4 separate regions of the Homo sapiens genome follow, and all the other regions are linked to region 2. The links are contacts of gene promoters, found by promoter capture Hi-C in human tissues and cell types (Jung and others, 2019). All regions are on one chromosome and are shown on one strand. The core of a region is centred on a gene start or on the middle of the fragment in contact, and the rest is flanking DNA. Distances in the headings are between cores, read along the strand shown. Region 1 overlaps STK32B (serine/threonine kinase 32B). Region 2 holds the start of STK32B (serine/threonine kinase 32B). Region 3 overlaps LOC101928306 (a long non-coding RNA gene). Region 4 overlaps STK32B (serine/threonine kinase 32B).

Region 1 (6,109 bases), core at 1,520-4,019, 73 kb after region 2:
ATCAACCTCCATAGAACCATGCAAGAGTGATTGTGTGTTCACAGTGTCCACCCATTCACTCACTCATTCATTCACTCGCTCATTCATTCACTAATTCACATACTCATTCTCTCACTCATTTACTCACTCATTCACTTACTCACCCATTCATTCACTGTTTCACTCACACACTCATTCACTCCTTCATTCACTTATTCACTTCTTCACTCCTTCACTCACTCATTCACTCATTCTTTTACTCATTCACTCGCTTATTCACTCATTCACTCACATTTACTCATTTACTCATTCATTCATTCATTCACTCACCCATTCACTCACCCATTCATGCATTACCTCATTAATTCAGTCACCCATTCACTCATTCATTCACTGATTCATGCACTTGTTCACTCATTCACTCATTCATTCACTCACTCATTCATTCACTCACTCACTCATTCATTCACTCATTAACCTACTTCACTCATTCACTCACTTATCCATTCAGTTGTTAACTCCTTCACTCATTCATTCACACACATTCACTCATTTACTCATTCATTCACTTGCTCCTTCGTTCACTCATTCTTTTACTCACTCATTCACTCACTCACTTGCTCATTCACTCACTCATTCACCCACCCACTCACTCACTTATTCATTCCCTGACTCATTCACTCACTCACTCATTTACTCATTCATTCATTCACTCATTCATTTACTCATTCACTCATTTACTCACTCAGCTGTTCCTTTGCCAACGCTTGGAGGACTTACTGTGTGCAGGTCCTGGCTCTCATTGAGGTTGCTGGGCTGACTGCATCTGGCGTTGGCCTTGCTGGACCACTCCCTTGCTGCACTCTCCTGCCTGGGTTCCATGATACTCTCCCTGGTTCTCTCCCAGCTCTCTGTGCACCCCTTCTCTGCCTGAGTCCCTTCTCCACCTACTTCAGCTGTTGGTGCTCTTCCACCCTCAGCCCCTGCCTTGACTCTCTATTTGCTCCACCTGCACCAGCTCATGCATTTCCTCCTGTGGCTGTGGAGCCCAAATCCCAGCTCCCTTTCTCATTTCTCACTGCTGGGTCCCCTTCTTTATCACCACAGCTGCCTCAAACTCAACAGGACCCAAGCCAACTTCCCCACCTCCCCACAGAGTGGTTCTTCTTTCTCCTGTGGGCTCTGCTCCCTGAGGCCTTGCTGTCCATGTGTCACTCATGCCCCAAGCTGTAGAGACAGAAGGTGTTGCTCCACACTTCTCTGGCTGTGTCCCGTGGTCTTGCTGGTCAGTTTCCCATGTGTCTCTCAAGTTTCCCCCATTTCTTCACTGCCTGGATCCTACATGCCTCCCGGCTGCTATCTCTGCACCCGGCTTCATCTTCCTTGGAGCCTCATGCAGCCGGCACAAATGAGGATTGAAGGAGTTTTTGTCCATAACCCGGGGTCCTGATGACACCCAGCCCCGTGCTTTTCCAATCACAATGCTAGCATCATTGTTATCATATTTGCTTGTTGGGGCTGCTGTAACAAAGTGTCACAGCCTGGGGGGCTTCAACAACAAACATTTATTTCTTGTAGTTCTGGAGGCAACAAGTCTGAGATCAAGGTGTGGGCAGGGTTGATTTCTTCCAAGGCCTCTCTCCTTGGCTTTATACGGCCACCTTCCCTCTGTGTCCTCCACGTGGCCACCCTGGGTGCATCTGTGTTCTTATCACCTCTTTTTACAAGGACTCCAGTCATATTGGATTAGGGCCCCACCTTTTTGACCCATTTAACCTTAATTACCTCCTTAAAGACCACATAAGCAAATCCAGTCACATTCTGAGGTACTGGGGGTTAGGATTCAGCACATGAGTTTTGGGGGGATACAATTTGATCCATGACAACTATGATTACCACCACCACCACCACCATCATCAATCTCCTCATCCTCATGTCATTTCACCTTTTCACCATCCTCCCTCCTGCCTTTTATTGATCACTTAGTATGTGTGGGGCTCTGATCAAAGCCTGTTAGCCTTCTCATGTGTGATCTCATTTACTTTTCACAACACACCTGTGACCTCTGTTTTATTAGAGCAGAGGAGAAGAGAGGTAAGGTAAATTCTCATATCATCTATTCAAAAAGTAGGTCTCTCATGCCCTGGTTTTGCCAAAATGTCAGCATCCTCCCAGTTTGTTGGCCAGGGGAACTATCACAAACCCCATCAGCTTGTTGAGTTCACTCCCTCAAATTACATAATTTTGCTCTCTCACAGAGAAAAAGTCCCGAAATCTCCGGCTGTTCTAAGTTCATCAGATGTCCGAGTGAGCAAAAGGTTTCACTGGGTTGCTGAGAGCTATGTGCTTTCTGCTCTTCTCTGTAAAACCATCGGCATTTTCTTAGTTCTGCAGCCTCCCTGACTCTCTTAGAGGTGGGTGGACATTCCCTTCTTGGCCCCCAGCCCATTGCCTCCTGAGAGTCCCTCTCTTCTCCCACATCTCATGCAGTGTTTCCTAACCCACCAGAAAGTGAGGGCTTGGGTGGCCAGGACTGAGTTTGGTTTGTTCCTGGCTCAGGGCCTGGAATAGAGCCACATCCTCATGGAAGGTCAGAAAGGAAATACAAAAAAACAGAAGATCTTAACTCTACAGGGACACTACAGGTCATAGATATAAAGGGTCTCAATGAGGCTTCCCATTTTATTATTCCAGTTTGTGTTAGGCTACTAAGGGAACAAGACTGTGTGTATGTGTGCACACATGTGTACATGTCTGTGTGCATGCACCTGTATGCATGTGTGTATGTGTGAGCATGCATATAGATGCACGTGTGTGTTTTAGGGGACATCCTTACTCTTTGGTTGTTCATAACAAAGAATTCGTCACCTACTGGGTCCTGTAGGAGGCAGAATGTTAAGATGGCCCGTCATGAACCTTCCCCTCCAATCTTACTCCTGGGTTATGTTCCATTACATTGTGAAGAGGATATTATGCAAGTGGACCTAATCTAATGACAGGAACTCTCTCAAAGCAGACAGAATTCTTCAACTATTAGCAGAAAGGAAAGTAAGGTAGATTTGAAGCGGAAGAGGGATTTGTTGCAGTATACTAGACAAGCCTCTAGGTGCTGAGAAGACTCCCAGCTCACAACCAGCAAAGACACAGGGACCTTAGTCCTACAGCTGCAGGGAACGGAATCCTGCTAATTATCTTAATGATCTGGGAAGCAGATTCTTCCCCAGATGTCCAACAAGAGCAGCTTGGTCAACACCTTGATGTTGGTCTTCTGATACCTTAAACAGAGAACCCTGTTGATCCTGCTCAGGTTTCTGACCTACAGAACAGTGAGTTAGTAAATGCGTGTTGCTGAGAGCTGCTGAATTTTTGATCATTTATTTTGTAGCATAGAAAACTAATACAAAGCTTTCCTATGTGTGGCCTCGGGCTAGGAACTGAGAATGTAGAAATTAATGCAATAGGTCCCTCCAGCCCCCCTCCCTGAGCAGCTTATGGTTAGAGACAGGAATCAAGGGATTCAGGCAGAGTCATGGGGGCAGCTGCAGCAGCACCTGGTGTGGGTGGGCGTGGTGGACCAGAGCAGCCTTACTTGGCCTGAGGCCAGCGATGCAGGGAGATGCCCAGCAGGCTGAGCCTGCTGCTGCACCCACTGTTGGCTTTTGGAAGCTACTGGGCCAAATGCATATGTCTGGGCTCCAGGGTCATCTGGGACACGTCTCCCTGGTTTTCCTCTCTACTCTCATCCCCGCACCTCTGTTCTCTCACTTTCTATCTGCTTCTGCTTTCATCAAGAGGTCTGCTTCCTCCTTCACAGTGAAAATAGCTACTCCCCAACTCCTTGCTTCAAACCCAGTGACTTCACTGCATTTGTAACTCTGCCTCCTGTGGACCTCCCTCTCCCACAGACCCCCACGAAGGGGCTGCCTCTTATTCCCATCTAGGAGAATTGTTCAGTGATCTGCCCCCATCAGATCTACCGGAGGCCCTTGCCTCAACCTAGGTTGAGCTTCACTTTGGCCTGTGATTGTCCAGTTGCCCTGGCACCATTTGTTGAGAAGCCATCCTCCCTCCACTGAATTGCTTCTACACCTCGGTCAAAAGCCAGTTGGGCACATCATGTGGGTCTGGGTTCTCCATTATGTTCCATTCCTCCATATGTCTGTTTGTCTTCTCATACCACCCAGTCTTGAGTACTGGAGCTACAGAGAAGGCCTTACTATTGGATAGAGTGGGTCCTCCACTTCTTTGTTAAAATTGTTTTAGTTCTCCTGTAGCTAAAATTCCCAGCTCCTCTTAGGATAGTCCTTGTGCCCTTTATCTCCATCCCTTCTTGTCATTTTTCTTCTCTCCCTCCATCCCTCCCTTGTTCTCTCCACCTCCTTGTCGGTAATACTACTTAGCAGCCACTCCGGCAAGCCTTCAGGCCCCCACTGCCCTGCAGGCCAGCCCTGCTGAGCGTGGCTGGGCTCGCTCACTTATCTGGGAGTTGGCTGGTTGTCAGATAGTCTAGGGTGTCTTCGCCAGGACAGCTGTGCTACTCACACTGCCCAGTGTCTCACTGTCTAGTGCTGCCTGGGCATCTTCCCATGGCAAAGTAGATGAGCACCTGTGTATGTTGGAGTTGTAGAAATAAAAAGATATTTTGGAAACATCATTTTGTCATTTAGCTCTTCATTCTGGTAGAGTAGAATCAGAGCTGACAGCGCCAGGTGAGATAGCTTTAGTTACTTCTTAAACCAACCCTCAGCAGTGCAACTTAGGACAAATCAGGTGAATAGAAAGTAACATGACTATATCACCTGTAAAGGCCGCCTATCTCTCAACAAATGATTCGACGGGCAGCTCTGTAATATCTAAAACATGGCCATTTCTACTGATAACCCAGTTATCAATTTCCTGATTTTTTTAGGGAATGAATAATACAGGGTCTGGGACCTAATTTGTGGTTTAGAGTCTACTGATATTTTTCAGTTCAATACTGAGCAGCAGAAAGGGGAGTGGTGATAGGTAATAGTTGGGATACTGTCTATTCCCTCTCCTTTTGCACAGATGACAGCATTACTCACATAATGCTCAGAATGCTCAATGCTGAGATAAAGGTGCCATGGACATTGGTGCTGCCTAAGTGCTTTATTCATGAGCCGTGAAGGGAACTTAACCAGACGAGAATAAACAAGCTAGGATCTTGATGCCAATGATTACATTTTTACTTATCTTTCCGTTAAACATAAGCAAACATCTTCCATTAGCTGCCATACAGTTGAGCGTCCCAGAAAATTTAAATGTCCTCGTTGTGTGGAATGGATATTAACCACATTAAGTACTTAAACAACTGACTGCTGGGACAAAATCTTTCCTGGTGAGGTTCACCTGGTGTGAGGGTCTGATAACCAGGCAGCTCTTGAGTGCAGAGGGCAGAGGGAAGAGTTTGGGGCTGTGGTGAATTGACAGAATTAATTGCCCTGATTCTTCATCGGTGGCACAGATGTGGCTCATTCAGTTACATCCAGTCATCATTTATTGAACCTCTTATTCATGTCAGGTGCTGTTTTGGGTGAGCAATTCTCTCAAAATTATGCCCGCCCAGAACCTCAGAATGCGACCATATTTGGAAATAGGGTCTTTGTATATGTAAGTAGTTAAGCAACTTGAGATAAAATCCTGGATTTAGAATGGCCTTATAAGAAGAGAAAACAGAGACAGACACATAAAGGGGAAGGCCATGTGAGGACAGAGGCAGAGGTTGGAGCCATGCAGCTGCAAGTCAGGGAAGGCCAAGGATGGCTGATGATATGGTTTGGCTGTGTTCCCACCCAAATCGCATCTTGAATTATAGCTCCCATACTTCCCACGTGTCGTGGTAGGGACCTCGTGGGAGGTAATTGAATCATGGGGGTGGGTTTTTCCCAGCTGTTCTCGTGATAGTAAATAAGTCTCACGAGATCTGATGGTTTTATAAAGGAGAGTTCCCCTACACGAGCTCTCTTGCCTGTTACCATATAAGATGTGACTTTGCTCCTCAGTCACCTTCCACCATGATTGTGAGGCCTCCCCAGCCATGTGGGACTGTGAGTCAGTTAAACTTCTTTCCTTTATAAATTACCCAGTGTCAGGTATATGTTTATTAGCA
Region 2 (6,100 bases), core at 2,236-4,735:
AGAGACCAGAGTTCTCCAGCCTCCACCCAAGGAATGTTTGGAGCCACCAGATGCTGGAAGAAGCATGGAGACTCTGGAGATTGATTTTGACTTCTGGCCTCCAGAATGGTGAGGGAATAATTTTCTGTTTTTTTTTTTTACTTGTTTGTTTTTTGAGACAAAGTCTCACTCTGTTGCCAGGCTGGAGTGCAGTGACGCAATCTTGGCTCACCGCAACCTCCACCTCCCAGGTTCAAGACATTCTCCTGCCTCAGCCTCCTGAGTAGCTGGGATTACAGGCACATACCACCATGCCTGGCTAATTTTTTTTTTTTTTTTTTTTTGAGATGGAGTCTCACTGTTGTTGCCCAGGCTGGAGTGCGATGGCGCGATCTTGGCTCACTGCAACTCTCTGCAGGTTTCAGCAATTCTCCTGCCTCAGCCTCCCGAGTAGCTGAGGTCACAGGTGCCTGCCACCACGCTTGGCTAATATTTGTATTTTTAGTAGAGATGGGGTTTCACCGTGTTGGCTAAGCTGGTCTCGAACTCCTGAGCTTAGGTAATCCACCCACCTTGGCCTCCCAAAGTTCTGGGATTACAGGTGTGAGCCACCGTGCCTGGCCTAATTTTTGTATTTTTAGTAGAGACAGGGTTTCACCATGTTGGCCAGTCTCGAACTCCTGACCTCAAGTGATCCTCCCACCTAGGCCTCCCAAAGTGCTGGGATTATAGGCGTGAAACGCCACACCTGGCCAATTTCTGCATTGAAATCTTAGGTCTTTGCACTTCTCAACCATTTGAGTTGGCTTAGCCTATTTGTGCCCCAGTCTCCTCCAGAGTGGGGATGGTGACACACCTACCTCTCAGGGTTGCTGTGAGGATGAGAAAATCCATGCAGAGCGCTTGAAGTACCAGAGTCAGGCACATTCTCTATGGATGGGGAGCAGAGAAGTGAAGGGGTTGCCGGAGGTCCTAGCACCCTGCAAAGAGTTAGCACAGAGCTGGACATGCAGAGTTCTCAATACACATGCACGCTGTCACTGAACACTGCACTGCAAGACTAATTCCAGCCGTGTGGAACATCTCCCAGCATCTGCAAAGTGTCCCACTCTCTAGGCCTGGAGAACTTTGCACCAGTAGCCTCCTTTCTTCTTCCAACCCGGTTGATTCCTTGCCCTTCCAGTCTCAGCGCCAGCACCCTCTCTGGCCAATGCCTTCTTTTCTTTTGTTTTTTTTTTTTTGAGACGGAGTCTCACTCTGTCACCCAGGTTGGAGTGCAGTGGCACAATCTCAGCTCACTGCAACCTCCGCCTCCCAGGTTCAAGGGATTCTCCCACCTCAGCCTCCCGAGTAGCCGGGATTACAGGTGGGTGACATTTCTGTCATGCGTGTCCGTGTGAAGAGACCACCAAACAGGCTTTGTGTGAGCAATAAAGCTTTTTAATCACCTCAGTGCAGGCGGGCTGAGTCCGAAAAGAGAGTCAGCGAAGAGAGATATGGGTGGGGCAGTTTTATAGGATTTGGGTAGGTTATGGAAAATTAAAGTCAAAGGGGTTCTCTGGGAGGCAGGGGCGAGGGTCACAAGGTGCTCAGTCGGGAGCTTCTGAGCCAGGAGAAGGAATTTCACAAGGTAATGTCATCAGTTAAGGCAGGAACAGGCCATTTTCACTTCTTTTGTGATTCTTCAGTTGCTTCAGGCCATCTGGATGTATATGTGCAGGTCACAGGGGTTATGATGGCTTAGCTTGGGCTCAGAGGCCTGGCAATCACACCCAGCTAAGTTTTGTTTTTTTAGTACAGATGGGGTTTCTCCATATTGGCCAGGCTAGTCTCAAACTCTTGACTTCAGGTGATCCACCCGCCTCAGCCTCCCAAAGTGCTGGGATTACAGGTGTGAGCCCCCACGCCCGGCCTAGCACAATATCAATATATTCCTCATAACAATGTTAGAAAGGGAAAGTTCTCTTATTAGCACCTTCTGGACTCAGATGAAGAAACTGAGTCCAGAACAGGTTAAGTAATTTATCCAAGTTAACTGGCTAATGAGGGGCAAAGCAGAATGAAACCTGGGTAGAATGAGCCCAGAGCCCATGCCTGTCCACATTCCGCCCTATGCTTCTTGAGCTAGGGGCCAGCTCTGTGTTCAGGGCATTGCCTGCTGCACACTGGCTACTCAGTGTATGCTTGTTGGTGGAATGAAAGGCAAGAAATATTTATTCATCATTTATTATATGCCGGGCACTGTTGCCTGCTTTTATAAATATTACCTGATATAATTCTCACAGACAACCCAAGGAGTTAATATCAATCAGCCCACTTTGCAGATAAGAACTCCAAAGTGGGACACATTGCCAGTAAATGGTAGAGCCAGCTCTGGGTCATGGTGGGTGGGCCTGCCTCAGACCTTCTCAGTTCTTTCCCACTGCCTTTAAGAGATTTTTTGTTTTGTTTTGTTTTGTTTTGTTTCTGTATGAGTCTCCCCGGCTTCCCTCACCCTTCTCCCAAGAAAAAGAAAGAAGGGGAGAGAACTGGAGAGAGAGACCAGGTAGGGGACGGGGACTGGGGGACGAGATAGGATGGAGAGAGTCACAAAGAACCCCTGCTTTCTATCAAAGCACGGACAGTGGTTCCAGGCGCCCAGCAGATGGCAGGATGTAGCCAAAGATTCCCTGCAGTCCCGGAGAGCTGGGCCCGCAGGACTGCAAGGCAGGGGGACCTGCCTGTCCCTCAGGGAGCGTCCTGGGAACCCGCGCTCGCCCCACACGTCTTGGGGCGCATCTGCCGCACCCCTTACTTAGGCACCCGCAACTGTGGCGCGTATCTCCCGATCCAGGCTCCCGCCGCAGGAGCCCAGGGACCCTCATGCTAGCCTCGCCCCTAAATCGGACGCCGATGCCGCCCAATTTTGGGGGAATCCCGAGACTCATGCCCAGCCATTCCCAGGGAGAATGGTTTGGGGCAAACTATGGCTGTCTGGGGCCTCAGTTTCCCCATGTACAATGAAGGGGTCAGATTAGTATCTAATCTTAAGGGGTCAGAAAGTAAACAGATACTTTCATTCATTAAACACTGAGAAAAACCTTAAGAGGAACAGCGTCGGTTGGAGAGCCAGCAGACACTCCACTGCCCATCCCAATATGAATGGGCAAATACAGGCTAGCGGGGAGTCCTGGGACTCCCTTCGCAGCCGGGGCCGACTAACCACAGACCTAAGAGCCCCTCTACCTCTAGACCTCCGTCTACTGCGCTCTAAAATATGAACGATGCTTTCTTACTGCTGGGTTGTCGGAGGCGGATGTGGGATGGTGCTAACAAAGCGCGTAGCCGAGGCCTGGCCATAGTGGGTGCTGACAAACCGCTTACTGCCTGCAGGGACCGAGCTCCCGGCCGAGGGAGGAGGGCCGAGCAGGGATTCAGATTCTTCCGGGCCGATCCCTTTCTCAGCTCCTTCCGCCCTGCCGCCGCCCACTGCGTGCTGCCTTCGTCCGTCCCCTCCTCCCCCGCTCCTTCCCCTCCTTCCCCTGCTCCCGCGCCGCCTCGCGTCTCCCGCCCGCTGTAGCCGGCGAGGAGCGCCGCACGTTGGCCCCGGCGCGAGGAGCTCCCGGGTTCCCGGGCGGGCACTGGAGTAAGGAGCTGCGAGCGCAGCCCGAGGCGGGGCACGGCGGAAGGCGCGGCGAGAGCGGGGTCCCTGCGAGCGCAGTCGGAAGGGCGTCCAGGAGAAGGGGGACGCCGTCCCCGCCCCTGCACGGTGCTCGGCCCCCTCGGGCTCCGCGCGCGGCTACAACCCGGACTGGGCGCGCCCCCGGCATCCCGCATCTCTGCGCGCGTCCCACATCCCGCATCCGGCATCCCAGCGGCCGGGCATGTAGCAGCGGCAGCAACGGCGGAATATGGGCGGGAACCACTCCCACAAGCCCCCCGTGTTTGACGAGAATGAGGAAGGTAAGAGAGCGAGAGGTGCGAATTCCCGCTTCGCGGGGCATCCCCTTCCTCCACCACCCTCGGCCGAGCCCTGCGGGGCACCGCATGCTGCCCGGCGCGGGGACCCAGGCATGGCCACTTCGCCCAGCGAATGCAGTGTGTGCCCGACCCGTGCCAGGCGCGGCGCTTCTGCTGAGGCAACTCCTAGGTACCCAGTGCCGTTTAGTAGTCGGGACGGTGCCTAGCGCGGGACTGGGGAGGCGGCTTCAGAGAGTTGAACCCGAAACCTGCACTTGGGGGTGTGGAAGGGAGGAGTTGACTTCGGAGGCCAGTCGGGATGGTTCTAGGCTCGGGCTCCCCAGGAAACCGAGGTTTCCTTGAGAGCCTGAGGCTGACGGAGGTGGCCTGGAAGGGCGGGTTGCACCGTGTGTCTGTGTGTGTGTGCGCGTGCCCACGACGCATTTGGTCTCGTGCAAGGGCCTGTTGGATGCAGCTCTCCTCAATCACCCAGGACAGAGGGAAACTTTTCTTTGCTAAACTCTGTGGTTCCTAGGAGGGCGTCCTGTTCTGGGCAGCCTCCCCCTGGCGCAGAAGTGGTGTAGGCTGTCCAACCGCATCTCAACTTCCTGGCTGGATCCTTGCGGTTCAGGTCGATAGAGCTCCCTATTTGGACTAGCAGAACCCTCTTTCCAGTGCAGCGTGTCCCTGGAAAACTTACTTCACCTCTCTGAAACATTAGTCCCTTCATCAATGAAATGTGAGTTATGATACCACTAGCTACTTTATAGGGTTGTTTGAAGCTTAACCACTAGTAATCCACGTGAAAAGTGCCTTATAAATGCAAGCAGTACCGAGCTGTGCCGTTTTTTATGTTAAGAGCCCTCTGCCTCTCAAAGCTGGTTTCCTACTGTGCTGACTCGCCAGTCTCCACTGTGCCCCAGGTAAGAGCTGAGACATACTGAGCACTTACTATGTTCCAGCCATGCTAGCACATAGTGTTCACTCCATCCTTTTCATGCCCCTTGAGGTGGCTACCTTAGAAAGGGGTCTGTCCTGGTTACTGCTGGTAAGAAGTAGAGCTGGGCTTGAGGCAGGACAGTCTGCTTTGAAAGCTGTGCCTGTCATCATTACCCAGGGCACTGGCTGTGTGCGTACATCATGGATGGCTTCTAGAACTCCCAAGGCTGTGAGTGCTACTCAGATGCCTGCCTGGACAGCCCTTCTCAAAAAGATAGATGAACACAGTCAAGGTTAAGTGAGCACCTGCTGTGTCAGGCCCACGAGAGCCTTCCTTAAAGGAGTTCCTAGTCTAATGGCCCTGAATGACCGTCCATGGTGATAAGGGCATTGAGAAACCAGTGCAGGGTCTTGGGGGCACAGAGAGGCCCCAGCTTTTCCTGATCTTTAGTCTGGAGCATGTGCAGGTGAGCAGGTAAGGAGCCAGTTGTGGACAGAGGAGAGGTGGGCACAGAGGTAATGGAGGCTCTTGCATGTCCCAGTAAGAGTTTGAACACTATGCAGCATCACCCTCAATTGCACGGGCTTGTGGTTCTAGCCTGGGTCAAAGGTCATGCTTTTGCTAATTTTCCTAGCATCTTTCTCTTTTATTTACAGAGGAAATTTGCCACCCTTATATTGAAAACCGTCTCTGTCATTTATCCCCAGCTTGAAAATATTCATTGGCAAAATAGTTATCTCTGGTGTAGCCAACCTTTTGATTTTCCTGTTCCTGTTCCTTATTCTATAAGCAGATTGGGCCTAAGGTTAACTGCCTGTTTCGGTGCTTGTTAAAATACAAGGTTATGAGGCCGGGCGCGGTGGCTCATGCCTGTAATCCCAGTACTTTGGGAGGCCGAGGTGGACGGATCACCTGAGGTCAGGAGAGGCCTGCCTGGCCAACATGATGAAACCCCGACTCTACTAAAAATACAAAAATTAGCCGGGCATGTTGGCGGGAACCTGTAATCCCAGCTACTCAGGAGGCTGAGGCAGGAGAATCGCTTGAACCCGGGAGGCGGAGGTTGCAGTGAGCTGAGATCGCACCATTGCATTCGAGCCTGGGCACCAAGAGTGAAGCTCCATCTCAAAATAAATAAATAAATAAATAAATATAAATAAATATAAGGTTAGGGCTCTCCTCATTTTGCCATTGCCCAGCCCAGTGAAACATTAACTTGTTTGATTTTGCCAGTATGTCTCT
Region 3 (5,958 bases), core at 3,141-5,640, 85 kb before region 2:
TTTCGATTTTATCTTCATTTTTTGAAAGATAGTTTTGCTGGGTATAGAATTCTAGGTTGACAGTTCCCTTTTTTCCCCTATACTCTAAAGATGTTGCTCCACTGTCTTGTGGCTTCATTATTTCTAACAGTCTGCTTATAATCCTTATCATGTTTCCTGTATATATGACATGTGCTCTTTGCTCTGGTTGCTTCCAATGTTTTGTATTTATCACTGTTATTTATTTATTTATTTATATTATTTAAAAGTTTTTTGAGACAAAGTCTCGCTTTATTACCCAGACTGGAGTGCAGTGACAGGATCATGGCTCACTGCAGCATTGATCCTCTCACTTCAGCCTCCTGAGTAGCTGGGATTATAGTCATGTGCCACTATTCCTGACCAATTTCAAAGCAGAAGAGAGAGGCAGAAGCAGTATAATCAAAGATATGACAGTATCGCACTATGTTACCCAGGCTGCTCTCAAACTCCTGGGCTTAAGCAAACCATCCTCTTTGGCCTCTCAAAGTGCTAGGATTACAGGTGTGAGCCACTGCACCTGGCCTATCACTGGTTTTGAGCAAGTAAGTTTATGATGTTTCTTAGTCTTATTTTCTTCAGGATTTTTGTGCTTGTCCTGTGTTGAGCTTCTTGGATCTGTGAGTTTATGGTTTTAACCAACTTTGGAAGTTTCTGGCTATTCTTTCTTCAAATACTTTTTCTTCCCATTTTTCTATCTCCTCTGTTTCATGATTCCAGTTATACGTGTCTGCTTTTTGCGGGAGGAGGGTTCTTTTTGCTCTCCTTGTGTCAATTTAAATAGCTTCAGTTAAATCTTGAATTTAACAAATTATTTCTTCTGCAGTATCAAATCTGTCCTTAATCCCATCCAGTGTATTTTTTATCTTAGAAGTATTTTTAACCCCTAGAAGTTCAATTTGGGCATTTTAAATATCTCTTGTGTTGCTTCTTAATATGCTCAATCTTTCATCTACATTTTTGAATACATAAAACATAGTGAGAATAATTGTTTTTGATGCCCTTGTCTACTAATTCTACAACCCATGTCATTTCTGGGTCTGTTTCTATTGACTGCTCTTTCTCTTAGTGATATGTTATATTTTCCTACTTCTTTGCATGCCTGGTAACTGTTTGGTCGATGACAGGCACTGTAAATTTTACCTTGTTGGGTGCTAGATATTTTTGTATTTTGTTATATTTTTGTGCTTTCTTTTGGGATACAGGCAAGTTACTTGAAAACAGTTTAATTATTTTGGTTATTTCTTTTAAGCTTGTGAGGTGGGACCAGACCATCATTTAGTCTAGGACAAATTTCTCTCCACTACTGAAGTAATAGGTTTCTGATTTTTCTACTGGATGTTCCACAAATAGTAAGGTTTTCCACTCTAGCTGGAGGGAAGAGGAACTCTTCTTGTATTTAAGTAAGCTGCAGAGATTGTTCCCTCTAATCCTTCCTAGTGGTTCTTTCCCTAGTCTCAGGTATTTTTCTTTTATTCCCTACTTTTCCTTATTCCTCTTTTGTAATCTCCTTTGTGGATTCTACCTGCTTTAGCTTCCCTGGACTCCCAGCTCAATCACTTCCAGTCAAGGTGATCCCTGGGCTCCATGTGGGCTACTGCTTTCCCTGTCACTTCATGAGAATTCTCTCCAGGCTGGGTGTGGTTGGCAGGAAAATGGCTGCCTAAAGATTTCCATGCAGTGATGTGGTTTGTATTTGTGTCCCCACTCAAATCTCATGTCACATTGGAGGAGGGGCTTGGTAGGAGGCAATTGGATCATTGGAGCAGATTTCCCCCTTGCTGTTCTCATGATAGTGAGTGAGTTCTTAGGAGATTTGAAGGTTTAAAAGTGTGTGGTACTTCCTCCTTCATGCTCTCTCTCTCTCCTGCCACCACATAAAGAAGGTGCTTGCTTCCCCTTTGCCTGCTGCCATGACTGTAAGTTTCCTGAGGACTCTTAGTCATGCTTCTGGTTAGGCCTACACAACTGTGAGTCAATTAAACCTCTTTTCATCATAAATTACCCAGTCTCAGGTAGTTCCTTATAGCAGTGTGAGGATGGGCTAATAGAGATGGCAAAGGGGAATTAAGGTTGCAGATGGAACTAAAGTTCTAATCAGTTAACCATAAAAAGAGAAGCTTATCCTAGTTTATTTTGGTGAGCCTTTGAATAATCACAAGGATTCTTCAAAGCAGAAGCGGGAGGCAGAAGCAGTATACTCAAAGATATGACAATATAAGAAGAACTTGGTCCAACATTACTGACTGAAGATAGAGGTATAGGACCACAAGCCAAGAAATGTGGGCAGTCTCTAGAAACTGGAAAAGGCAAGAAATCTCCTCTACAGCATCTAGAAGGGAATGGAGTTCTGCCAACACCTTGGTTTTAGCCCAGTGTGGCCTATTTGCATTTCTGACCTCCTAAACTGTAAGATAACCAATTTTGTTGTTTATGCCATTAATATTGTGGTGATATGAGACACCAGCAATAGGAAACAATAATACATGTTTGGTACCACAAATGTTGTGCTGCTACAAGAAATACCTCAAAATGTGGAAGTCACTTTGGAATTGGGCAATTGGTGGAGTTTGGAAGAATTTTCAGGAGCATGATAGATGAGGCCTAAATTGCCTTGAACCTACTCTCAGTAGAAATAGGGATCTTAAGAACTCTGCTGGTGAAGACTCAGGATCAAGTAAGGGGCACAGCAGGGAAAGCCTATATTGTCTTAGAGAATACCTAAATCATCATAAATAGGCTGTTGGTAGAAATATGGGTGCTGCTGGTGAAGACTCAAAATGAATTGAGAGGCGTGTTATTGGGAACTGGAGTAAAGTGAGTCCTAGTTACAGAGCAGCAGAAGACTTAGTGGAATTGTGACCAACCATTATTTGGAAAGCAGAACTTGTAGACTATGAAAGTGGACATTTAGCTGACAAAATTCCAATCAAAGAGATGAAAGTCTGGACATTACCCGCAACATATTCCCTCCTACCCCTTCCCAATTGATCCCTGCCCCCACATCTGTAAAGGTAACCTCTGTTTCTTCAACTATAGATTAGATTAGCTTGTTTTAGATCTTTATATAAATGGAATCACCTAATATGTACTCTTGTGTAAGGCTTCTTTCACTCACATCATATTTTGGAGATTATCTGTGTTTGTGGGTGTATTGGCAGTTCATTTTTTTTCCAGAGTAGTATATCATTGTTTAAATACCACGGCTTGTTTACCTGCTTTCCTATGAATGGACTGTTTCCAGTTTGGGCTGTCATGAATAAAGCTGCTATAAACATTCATGAGCATATGTTTTCATTTTTATTATTTCATCTTTAAGTTATGATGTTAACTGGGAAACAGCAGGGCCTTGAGAATTGGAAATGGACACATGGGCAGATTCCAGTGACAATGAAAACTTTGAACTTCTAGACTTTGCCAAGCCTCCTTTGCCAGCAGAAGCAGCACTCCTCCCCTGTCTGAGGAGGTTCACCTCCTGTTGCTTGCAACTCTAGTGAGATTCACTGAGGTTGTTGCTGATGGGGGGACTGCCAACCCTCCTCAAGACCTCCTGCAAAAACACTTCATTACACCTAAGCCAATAACAACCCTCAAATTCTGGCATTATCCAGTGGGCTGGGGCAAAGTGTGACCAGGGAGAAAGAATCACACATAACAAGACAAAGTCCAGGATGCTTTCAATGTATGTAAGAGACTCAAAACACATCACATTATTTTTTCACATTAAGGAATCAGTATAAATTTGGTATTAAGATAATTTGATATTTTAGAGTGGTAGTCTTTTGACTCCAATTAAATATACAGTTCAATAATTGATTTATATTTGTGATTTTAAGCGGAAATCTTACTAAGCTTATATATATAATATAAAATATATATCTTATATAGATATAAGATATAGATCTTATATCTGTAAGATGTAGATCTCATATCCTGTAGATGTCATATCTATGATATAAGATATAGATCTCCTATCTTATATATCGTATATCTATATCTCATATATATATACTTCATTATTTATGTAAGTTTATCTGATGTATAAGAATTACTTCAGTATTGGGAAGAGTTGTCAGATCATTGAGATATTTAAAATCAAATTGAGTGTAAGCAATTTATAAATGTAATTTAAAGTTTTGAAGATGTTTAATTATTTGATTTGGTTAGTGGGATCCAGCATTATTTTTGGATCCTTTATAAGTGATTATTTGCTGGGCATAGAACCAGCTTTTAAAACACTAATAGAAAGTGATAGTGGCTCATCAAAATCCGTGTCTTTTGCTCCTTGGTGGACACTATGTTTCCCCATCTCGTGGCAGTGAAAGTAGCCAAGTAACTAAGTTCTAGCCAAATGGAATTGAGCAGAAGTGATGTGTGCCATTTTCCTTCTTGGCTGACGAAAACCTCTCACGGGCCTTCCTCCCTCCTATTGTCTGGAATGGAGATGATGAAGGCAACTTTGCAAGCAACTAGTTGGAGGGGGCAAAGCCTTGGTCAGCTTGGGTCCCTGAGTGGCTTCATCAAATAAGGGATATTCCCACATCCATTTTTCACTTGTGCTATTCTGTCACCACTGTGGCTGTTACATAAGCAAGAAATACACTTCTATTGTGTTGGGCTACTCCATGTTTAAGACTATTGGTTACCTAGCCTTCCCTGATGAATACATTAACAGAATACCAAAGCCTAAGAGACAATTAGGTGTTGGTGAGCCAGGCACTGTGGCACATGCCTATAGACTGAGGCAGAAGGATCCCTTGAACCCAGGAGTTCAAGGCTGTAGTGTACTATGAATGCACCTGTGAATAGCCACTGCACTCCAGTCTGGGCAATACAGCAGAACCGTATCTGCCTAAAAAAAAGATTGGGTGTTAAGAGTTTGTAACTTTGTAAAAAGCAAAGCAAACTTCTGCCCAGACTTTTCTTGGCACAAGAATTACCTTTTGCAAAGCTTCACATTGGTGGTGATTTTTCACTTGGGGGCTCATACCTAACAGAGCTGTTGGGGACCGTCACTTTTTCCTTCTTCTCTAGTCTCACTTCTGATTTTCTCCCATGACAGATCTAAACCCTGCTGTAAGGGAGTTCACAGATCAAGAATAACGTTGAGGAGAATGTTAAAATAAAATATCTTTCAATTTTTAAAGGTAATATGCACTCAAAACATTTGGAAAACATAGAAAAGTCAGAAAAGTATCATAGAAAGTCAACCACTGACAATATTCTAGTACTCAGTATTTCAAGTTATTTTTTGTTTTACATAGTGATATCATATTATATACAAAAGATTATTCTTTTTTTTTTCTTTTTTATTTCTTTTCTTGAGACAGGGTCTCACTCTGTTGCCCAGACTGGAGTGCAGTGGCACAATCTCGGCTTATAGCAACTTCCGACTCCTAGGCTCAAGTGATTCTCCTGCCTCAGCCTCCTGAGTAGTTGGGATTATAGGTGCATACCACTACCACCCACTTAATTTTTGTATTTTTAGTAAAGATGGGTTTTCACCATGTTGGCTAGGCTAGTCTTGAACTCCTGACCTCAAATGATCCACCTGCCTCAGCCTCCCAAAGTGCTGGGATTACAGGCATGAGCCACCATGCCTGGCCCAAAAGGTTATTCTTATGTTGCGATTTAAGGAGTTTAAAGTCTGGAAACAAGTTGGAAATAGATTCAGGAGTCAGAGAGATCTTAGCTTCATTGCTGGAGGGGAGAATTCAGCTTGACTCTGCCACCATACCCAGGCCTGCTGAGGCCTGCTGTAGGACCCTCTATGGGGAGATTTTACCTATAGCAGGACATTCACCTGGCCAACTGCAAGGCGAATCACCAGGTCACATACCTTGGAGCCTTCAGAAGTGAAAGAGAGATGGAAGATACAGGAAAGTAGTTTTTAACATATTAACATACCCACTTGAGAAAAGTAGATGATTGCATGGCAGC
Region 4 (6,862 bases), core at 1,746-4,245, 120 kb after region 2:
CCAGGCATCAGTCTACCCCTCACTCCACCAGCCTGTGTTTCCTGCTCCTCCGCATGGGCCACATGCTATGGCTGGCTCTTCCCACTCTGTCCCATGGAGACCCGACTGTGGACCTGGTAGGGCCGGTTCTGTAGACCCATTTCACAGTAGAGGAAACTGAGGACTACAGAGTGTTTGGCCAGGTTATTTAGCCCCTGGTGGGTGGCAGTGGTGGACCCTTATAGATTGTGATAACTTCCTAAACCAGGTAGCTTAAAACAGTGGAAATTTATTATCTTACAGTTTCGAAGGCCAGAAGTCTTGAATCCAGCTGTGGGCAGGGTAGATTCCTTCTAGAGGCTCTGAAGGTGGGTCTGTCCCATGCCATCACCCAGCTTCTGGTGCTGCTGGCCAGCCTCGGCATTCCTTGGCTTGTAGATTCATCACTCCAACCTCTGCATCCGTCCTCACATAGCCTTCCGCCTGGATGTGTCTCCTCCCCTTCTCTTCTCTTCTAAGGACGCTTGTCATTTGGTTTGGGCCCGTCCTAATCCAGGTTGATCTCATCCTGAGATCCTTAACTTAATTACATCTGCAAAGACCCCTATCCAAATAAGAGCACTGTCTTAGTCCGCCTGGGCTGCTATCACACATGCCGCAGACTGGGTGTCTAAAAGAACAAAGATTTATTTCTCCCAGTTCTAGAGGCTGCAAGTCCCACATTAAGGTGGCAGCATGGTCAGATTCTGGAGTGGGCCCTTTTCCAGGTTGCAGGCTGCTAGCTTTACACTGTATTATCACAGGGTGAACAGCAGGATCTCCGATGAGCAGAATGAGGCTCAGAGAGGGTGGGCGACTTGCCTATGGTCACACAGCAAACAGCTGGAATTTAAGCCCTGCTCAGGAGTAGCCCCTGAGCTCAAACTCTCTGTGACTCTGTGACTCCCTGGAAGACCCACCCGTTGGAGACCCACTTGTCTCCACTCAGTGCATTAGATTTAGCTTAGCTCTTTGTTTTTTGTTTTTTTCTCTTTTAGCCTCTATCTCCTGGTCAGGTTAATTAAGCTGTTGTTACCAACCCTTCTTGGTCAGTGAGGAAGCAAGTCCAGAGCGGCTGAGGTTTGTGCACAGCCCCACTCAATCTGCAAGAGGGCTAGGCCCAGAGCCCAGTTTTCCTGACTCCTGGTGTAGCTCTCTTTGCTCTGTGTTCCTGAGAAACAGAATTTTTCTGAGGTGCCTTAGATAGCATGAGGTCTTAGCCCTGAATTTACCGAGGAGGTAGTCAAGGCCCAGATGATGAATGGATGCCAGCCACACTCAGGTCTCTGCATCAAGCTGGCCAAGACCCCTGATCCTTGGCCTCTCTTATTTGCAAATCAAAACTTCCAGGCTGCATCCAATATCCTGTATCAACCGCCTGCTTTTGCTTGTATTGAAAAGTCAAACTTCCAAGCTCTATTGAAATCATGAGTTCTCCTTTGAAAGCCAGTTTTAATTTAATTTTGGAGAGTCTCTTCCAATTCCTAAAATGTCTCTGAGCTGAGGTGAGAGCTGTCCCTTGAAACCCAGAAGCGCCATGGATGTCTTTATCTGAAGGGACGCAGCCCCGGGGACGCTACACAGACTGTCTCCCAGCCTAAGCTTTTCACAGCGATGCAGCCAGCTGACAGCCAGGTCCCAGCCCCGCAGAGGCAGTGCCTGCTGTCTCTTCTGAGAAGGCGAATGAGAAGTGAGAGAGACCACAAATTCTAATTAGTGGGATTATCCTCCCACGACATGTCTGGCTTCAGACATGGGTCTCAGAGCCTGGTGCCCGGGCCTCCAGAAGTCTTTGCTTGGATTCCCACAAAGCCAGGACCCCTGAGGTACGTTTGCACGTCATACCTTTGCCTCCTTGCATTTTATATTCTCACGTTCACTACTGGAAATGGGTGTTCTGTGGGCCTTCGACCTCATGCCGTAAATTTTACTCTGTGGAAAAAACATCTTTTTGGAGATTTCATGCAACGTGCTATCTAATACATTGAGATGCAGTTGACATTTATCGTCCCTCAGTGCCGCCTGGCACTCCCACTTCCTGCTCCTGTTTGGTTTCACCCCAGTGGTGCCGGGTGGGTTTTGCTGACTCAGTTCAGAAATATGCGGAGACTGAGGCCAAGAGAGGCACAAAGAACCAAAGCTGGAGTCGGAAATCAGGCTTCTGCCATCGTCCTGTATCTGCCTTGAATAGATTTGCAACGTGTCAGAGCTGAGTGGGGTCAATTTCCAACAGAAGAGAGGCTGTGACACCAGGAGAAAACCCCGAGTTCCTTCGCTGGGTCCTCAAGCCAACAGCGTTATTGCCGGCGTGTCCCATTTCTCAGGAAGGCCACACTGTGGGTGAAAAGTGACAGCTGGGGAGGCAGAGAGCCTGGGTTTGAGTTGAGCCTCGAGAAAGCACTAAAACCTTTCTAGGCCTCACTTTCCTCTCTCTGTGAAGCGGGGATAGTAATAGTCATTGTCCTTGATGGAACGGTGTCCCACCCCTCCAAATTCAACTCCTCCTGGAACCTCAGAATGTGGCCTTCTTTGGAAATGGCGTCATTTTAAGTGTAATTAGTTAAGATGAAGTCATACTAGATGAGAGTGGGCCTAAGTCTACTCTGACTGGTGTCCTTATAAGAAGATGAATGACACAGAGACGTAGGGGAGGATGCCATGTGACAACAGAGCCTAGGACGGAAGAGCTGCAGCTGCAAGCTAAGGGCACCAGGGGTTGCTGGAGCTGCCCAACTCTGGAAGAGGCAGAGGAGGATCCCCCCAGGAGCCTTCAGAGGGGGCAGGACCCTGCTGACACCTTGGTTTTGGACTCCCAGCCCTCAGAACTATGAGCCAATAAATTTCTGTTGTTTAAATCCCCCAGTTTGAGGTACTGTTACAGCAACCTGAGGAACCCACACAATCCCTTATCGAGGTGTTGGGAAGATTAGCCCATACAATCCTTGCTAACCGTCCAAGGAACCAATACAGTCCCTCCTCGGCGTGTTGGGAAGACTAGCTCATACAATCCTTGCTAACTGTCCAAGGAACCAATACAGTCCCTCCTCGGGGTGTTGGGAAGACTAGCTCATACAATCCTTGCTAACTGTCCATGCCACATGTGCATGTCAGCCCTGCTCACTTTTCCTGCTGTGCTTGCTGTGTCTCCTCGGCTCCACGCCCTCCGTTACAGGATTCCCTTTCCCTCAAAGCCTCTTCCTTCACCCTTACCATCTTCCCATCCTTTAGAGCTTGCCCCCTGGTTTTGATCCTGCGGAGAGCCTTCTCTGACAGCTCCCATCCTCCCACCTTGCCCCCAACTGCCCCCAGGTAAGGCAGTCGCTCAGAAGTCCAGGCCTCATGGATTTGAACCCCCACCCTGCCACTTGGTGGTTTGTTGAACTCTGAACAAGTTAATTAGTACACTTGGGGCTACAGCTCCCTCATGCTTTATCCATAAGGTTCTTATAGGGATTCAGTGAGATGGTCAAGGAGATGATTTGCTCAGTGTCTGACCTGCAGTAAAGTGCTCAATACAGGACCACTGTCATCATAGCTGTCCCCAGCTTCTCCTGTGCTCCCCCAGAACCCATGTGCCTGAGTTTGGGTTTCCCCAGAATCAGGCTCCAAGGCAAAGATTTGAGGACAGGGCATGGGAGAGGCAGAAAGAACACAGAGAAGGGTAGGAAGGAAGACAGCCAGGAAAGGGTGTGCTGTGTTAAGCTTGTTACCCCACTGTGGGGCTAGGCAAACTTACAAACTCCGGGAGCCAGTGTAAACACTGGCATCAGCCTCATCCCAGGTGACGGGCAAGGGAGTGGGGGTACTGATACTCCCGTTTCTAACAGTCGTGGATCGAATGTTGCTCTGAGGACATTAATTCCCTGGCTTGGCTGGTCTGCTACATGGGCAGCAAAGTGGGCCCTACTGGCAAAAGAGAGTCCTCAGGGAGAGAAATGCAGGACTGGTGGATGGAAGTCAGGCAGGTAGGTGCAGAAGTGGGAAAGGTGAGGAGATTCAGGTGGGCACAGACGGAGTCTGCGACACTCGTGCACGCCACACATCTCAGGGTTATAGTCACTGGTGCTTTTTGCATTTATCTATTTTCCTCGTGGGCTGTGAGCCCCTTGAGGGCAGGCCTGCTTCTTCCATCTTCTGTGTTTGCATCTCCTCTTTCAACACTTAGTACATGGCCAGTGCTCATGTCAATGTTTAATAAATGGATGAATCTGGTCCAACTCCTCCATTCTGCAGATGCAGAGAGGTTGTGCCTAACTTAGCAGAGCTGCTCCCCTAGCAGATTTCAAGAACAGGGACGTGAATCCAGAAGTAAAAATGCAGTGCGGGGTGACATTTCTCCTTTGTCTCCCTTTTCGATTGTTGGCCTGACTGTTCTCTCCTTTGGCTGTCGCTCAGGTATGCATCGTGCAGAAGCGAGACACTAAGAAAATGTATGCAATGAAGTACATGAACAAGCAGAAGTGCATCGAGAGGGATGAGGTTCGGAATGTTTTCCGGGAGCTGCAGATCATGCAAGGGCTGGAGCACCCCTTCCTGGTCAATCTGTGGTGAGTGTGGCTCCATCCAGGGCTCCTGTGGGTTCCCCTGTGGGGAGCCAAATGCAAATTCGCCTCTGCTAGAGGGACTCTTCCGCATTGTAAAGGGAAAGGGATGCAATTTTCTGGGTTCAGTTATTCTTAAGTATTTTGTAGAGTACATTTTCTGATGAAGTCTATAGGCATATGTTTCATTTTCATTTTAATTCTGTCCTCTTATCTGATGAATCAGAGTTGAAAATAAATGGAGAAGTGTTTTGCGTATTTGAGAAGATACGTGGAACGTTATAAGAGAATGCCGAAGATAGGCTACTAAAGGGAGTGGGGAGCTCAGTGTTTCAGAAAGTCACAGCCATACAGCTGATGGCAGGAAGGGCAACTGGAAACCAGTATTCTACTTCAGTACAGATGGCTGCCCATCACGGACGTACCAAATTCGGAATTCTCTATCCTGCCCCCAAAACCTGCCATCACCCATGTTTCAGAACTTTCACTCCAACCCGTCCTTGGCTATTATCTTCACTTTAAATGTGCATCCTAGAAACACATCCTGTTGGTGGTTCCCTGCCTCTGTGCTTTTGCGTGTGAAATATCTTCCTAAAACACTCACGTCCCCTTCTCCAGTGTCCCCTAACCAACACCTGTGCATTCCTGGCACCCAGCTTAGGAAACCCTTAGGTCAAGAGCCCTTGAAGACCCACAGGCCAGCTGAGTGCCCCTCGCGACCTCAGTCTTCTCCTGTGTTTGACCTAATGCCATCTTTATCACAGTGAACCCAGGTTATTGGGTTACTTATCTGTCCTCACACAGAAATTGCTTGTTTCTGGGTAGTCTAACACAGTATCTGACACATTGGAGGGACTTAGCAAATGTTTCCTAAGCTGGATTGTGTTGAAGGGGAGAGGGAGGACAGGCCGCTTTAGGAAACAAATTCTGACCATTTCATTCAGCGGATCAGTTGACCCACTGACCTTAAGAGTTGGGATGGCCACCCTGGAGGGGTAAGTCTAGCTTTGCACATACTTGACCACCACTGATTTCAGTTGCCCTGCACACTTAGAAGCACTTTGAACATTGGATGATAGGAGAACAAAGAGGAACACAGATTGTCCCATCTGAGAAAATCAAGGTGTGCGTGCCAGGTGCCACAGACATGGGCATTGCCATGGAGAAAACCCAAACCAAACCTTGTCTGCTGGAGTCTCAGTATCCACCGAGAGTTCTTCGTGTCTCTGTGCAGTGATCTAAAAACTTTGATTGTTTGGGAGAAATAAACCCCGTCATGTTTTGATTGCTATGCAAGGGAATTTTCTAAAGTAAATCTTTAATCCGAACAGCAATATGTGTTCTTGGCAAAATATAGAAAATAAAATACGTCAGAAAACAAAAATTACCCAGAAGCTCTTCAGACTCAGATTAAATTTTGGTGTGTAATTATTTTTATACTCCTTTTCTTGTATTTTTTTTCATATCAATGACATATAACTGTATGTGTTATTGATATATAAACATTCAGAGAAATTTTGTATTCCATTTTCTGAATTAATATCTGGCGGGAGCGCTACCTCCTTGTTACTGCAAACTCTTTGTAAATCATTTTTAATGGCTACATAATATTCCACTAAGGAAAAGCACAATAAGCCATCTAATCGAACCTTCATTCTGTCATGTGGGTTACTTGGGCTGTTTCTAATTATTTTGCCAATGTAAATACTGCTGAGATGATTATCTCTGAACCTGAAGTTTTTCAGGTGGGACTCCTTAAGGTGGACTAAGAAGATCAGATGCCTAGTGGAGCTTGTATGATGTATGTTAAAGGAAAGGAATGTGTTGGAGTAGCCTTTACTTAGGCACCTTTTTTTATTTTTATTTTTATTTTTATTATTATACTTTAAGTTTTAGGGTACATGTGCACAACGTGCAGGTTTGTTACATATGTATACATGTGACTTGTTGGTGTGCTGCACCCATTAACTCGTCATTTAACATTAGGTATATCTCCTAATGCTATCGCTCCCCCGTCCCCCCACCCCACAACAGTCTCTGGAGTGTGATGTTCCCCTTCCTGTGTCCATGTGTTCTCATTGTTCAATACCCACCTATGAGTAAGAACATGCAGTGTGTGGTTTCTTGTCCTCGTGATAGTTTGCTGAGAATGATGGTTTCCAGCTTCATCCATGTCCCTACAAAGGACATGAACTCATCATTTTTAATGGCTGCATAGTATTCCATGGTGTATATGTGCCACATTTTCTTAATCCAGTCTATCATTGTTGGACATTTGGGTTGGTTCCAAGTCTTTGCTATTG

The links. The method cuts DNA at HindIII sites, captures the fragments that hold promoters and counts their contacts. A contact is called where the count stands out against the background at its distance.
Region 1: a fragment that was not itself captured here is called in contact with the fragment with the promoter of STK32B in region 2 in 3 of the 25 tissues and cell types used here (H1 embryonic stem cells, IMR-90 fibroblasts and mesendoderm cells).
Region 3: a fragment that was not itself captured here is called in contact with the fragment with the promoter of STK32B in region 2 in 2 of the 25 tissues and cell types used here (aorta and bladder).
Region 4: a fragment that was not itself captured here is called in contact with the fragment with the promoter of STK32B in region 2 in 3 of the 25 tissues and cell types used here (H1 embryonic stem cells, aorta and heart right ventricle).

The regions. Positions count from the first base shown.
Region 1 is chr4:5,121,973-5,128,081 of GRCh38, forward strand. The region is part of intron 1 of STK32B (serine/threonine kinase 32B); the gene reads left to right. Among named protein-coding and RNA genes, the nearest start is that of STK32B, 74 kb to the left of the region's middle. The HindIII fragment of the contact is 9,200 bases long and covers 1-6,109 here.
Region 2 is chr4:5,047,995-5,054,094 of GRCh38, forward strand. It overlaps STK32B (serine/threonine kinase 32B), which reads left to right and starts at 3,486. Exons shown (of 12, transcript NM_018401.3): 1 at 3,486-3,921. The coding sequence starts at 3,870. RefSeq lists an enhancer at 4,188-4,726. The HindIII fragment of the contact is 7,679 bases long and covers 1-6,100 here.
Region 3 is chr4:4,962,072-4,968,029 of GRCh38, forward strand. The region is part of intron 2 of LOC101928306 (a long non-coding RNA gene); the gene reads left to right. Among named protein-coding and RNA genes, the nearest start is that of CYTL1, 54 kb to the right of the region's middle. The HindIII fragment of the contact is 5,372 bases long and covers 1,705-5,958 here.
Region 4 is chr4:5,163,886-5,170,747 of GRCh38, forward strand. It overlaps STK32B (serine/threonine kinase 32B), which reads left to right. Exons shown (of 12, transcript NM_018401.3): 3 at 4,414-4,565. Among named protein-coding and RNA genes, the nearest start is that of STK32B, 120 kb to the left of the region's middle. RefSeq lists an enhancer at 1,461-2,660. The HindIII fragment of the contact is 6,524 bases long and covers 1-6,257 here.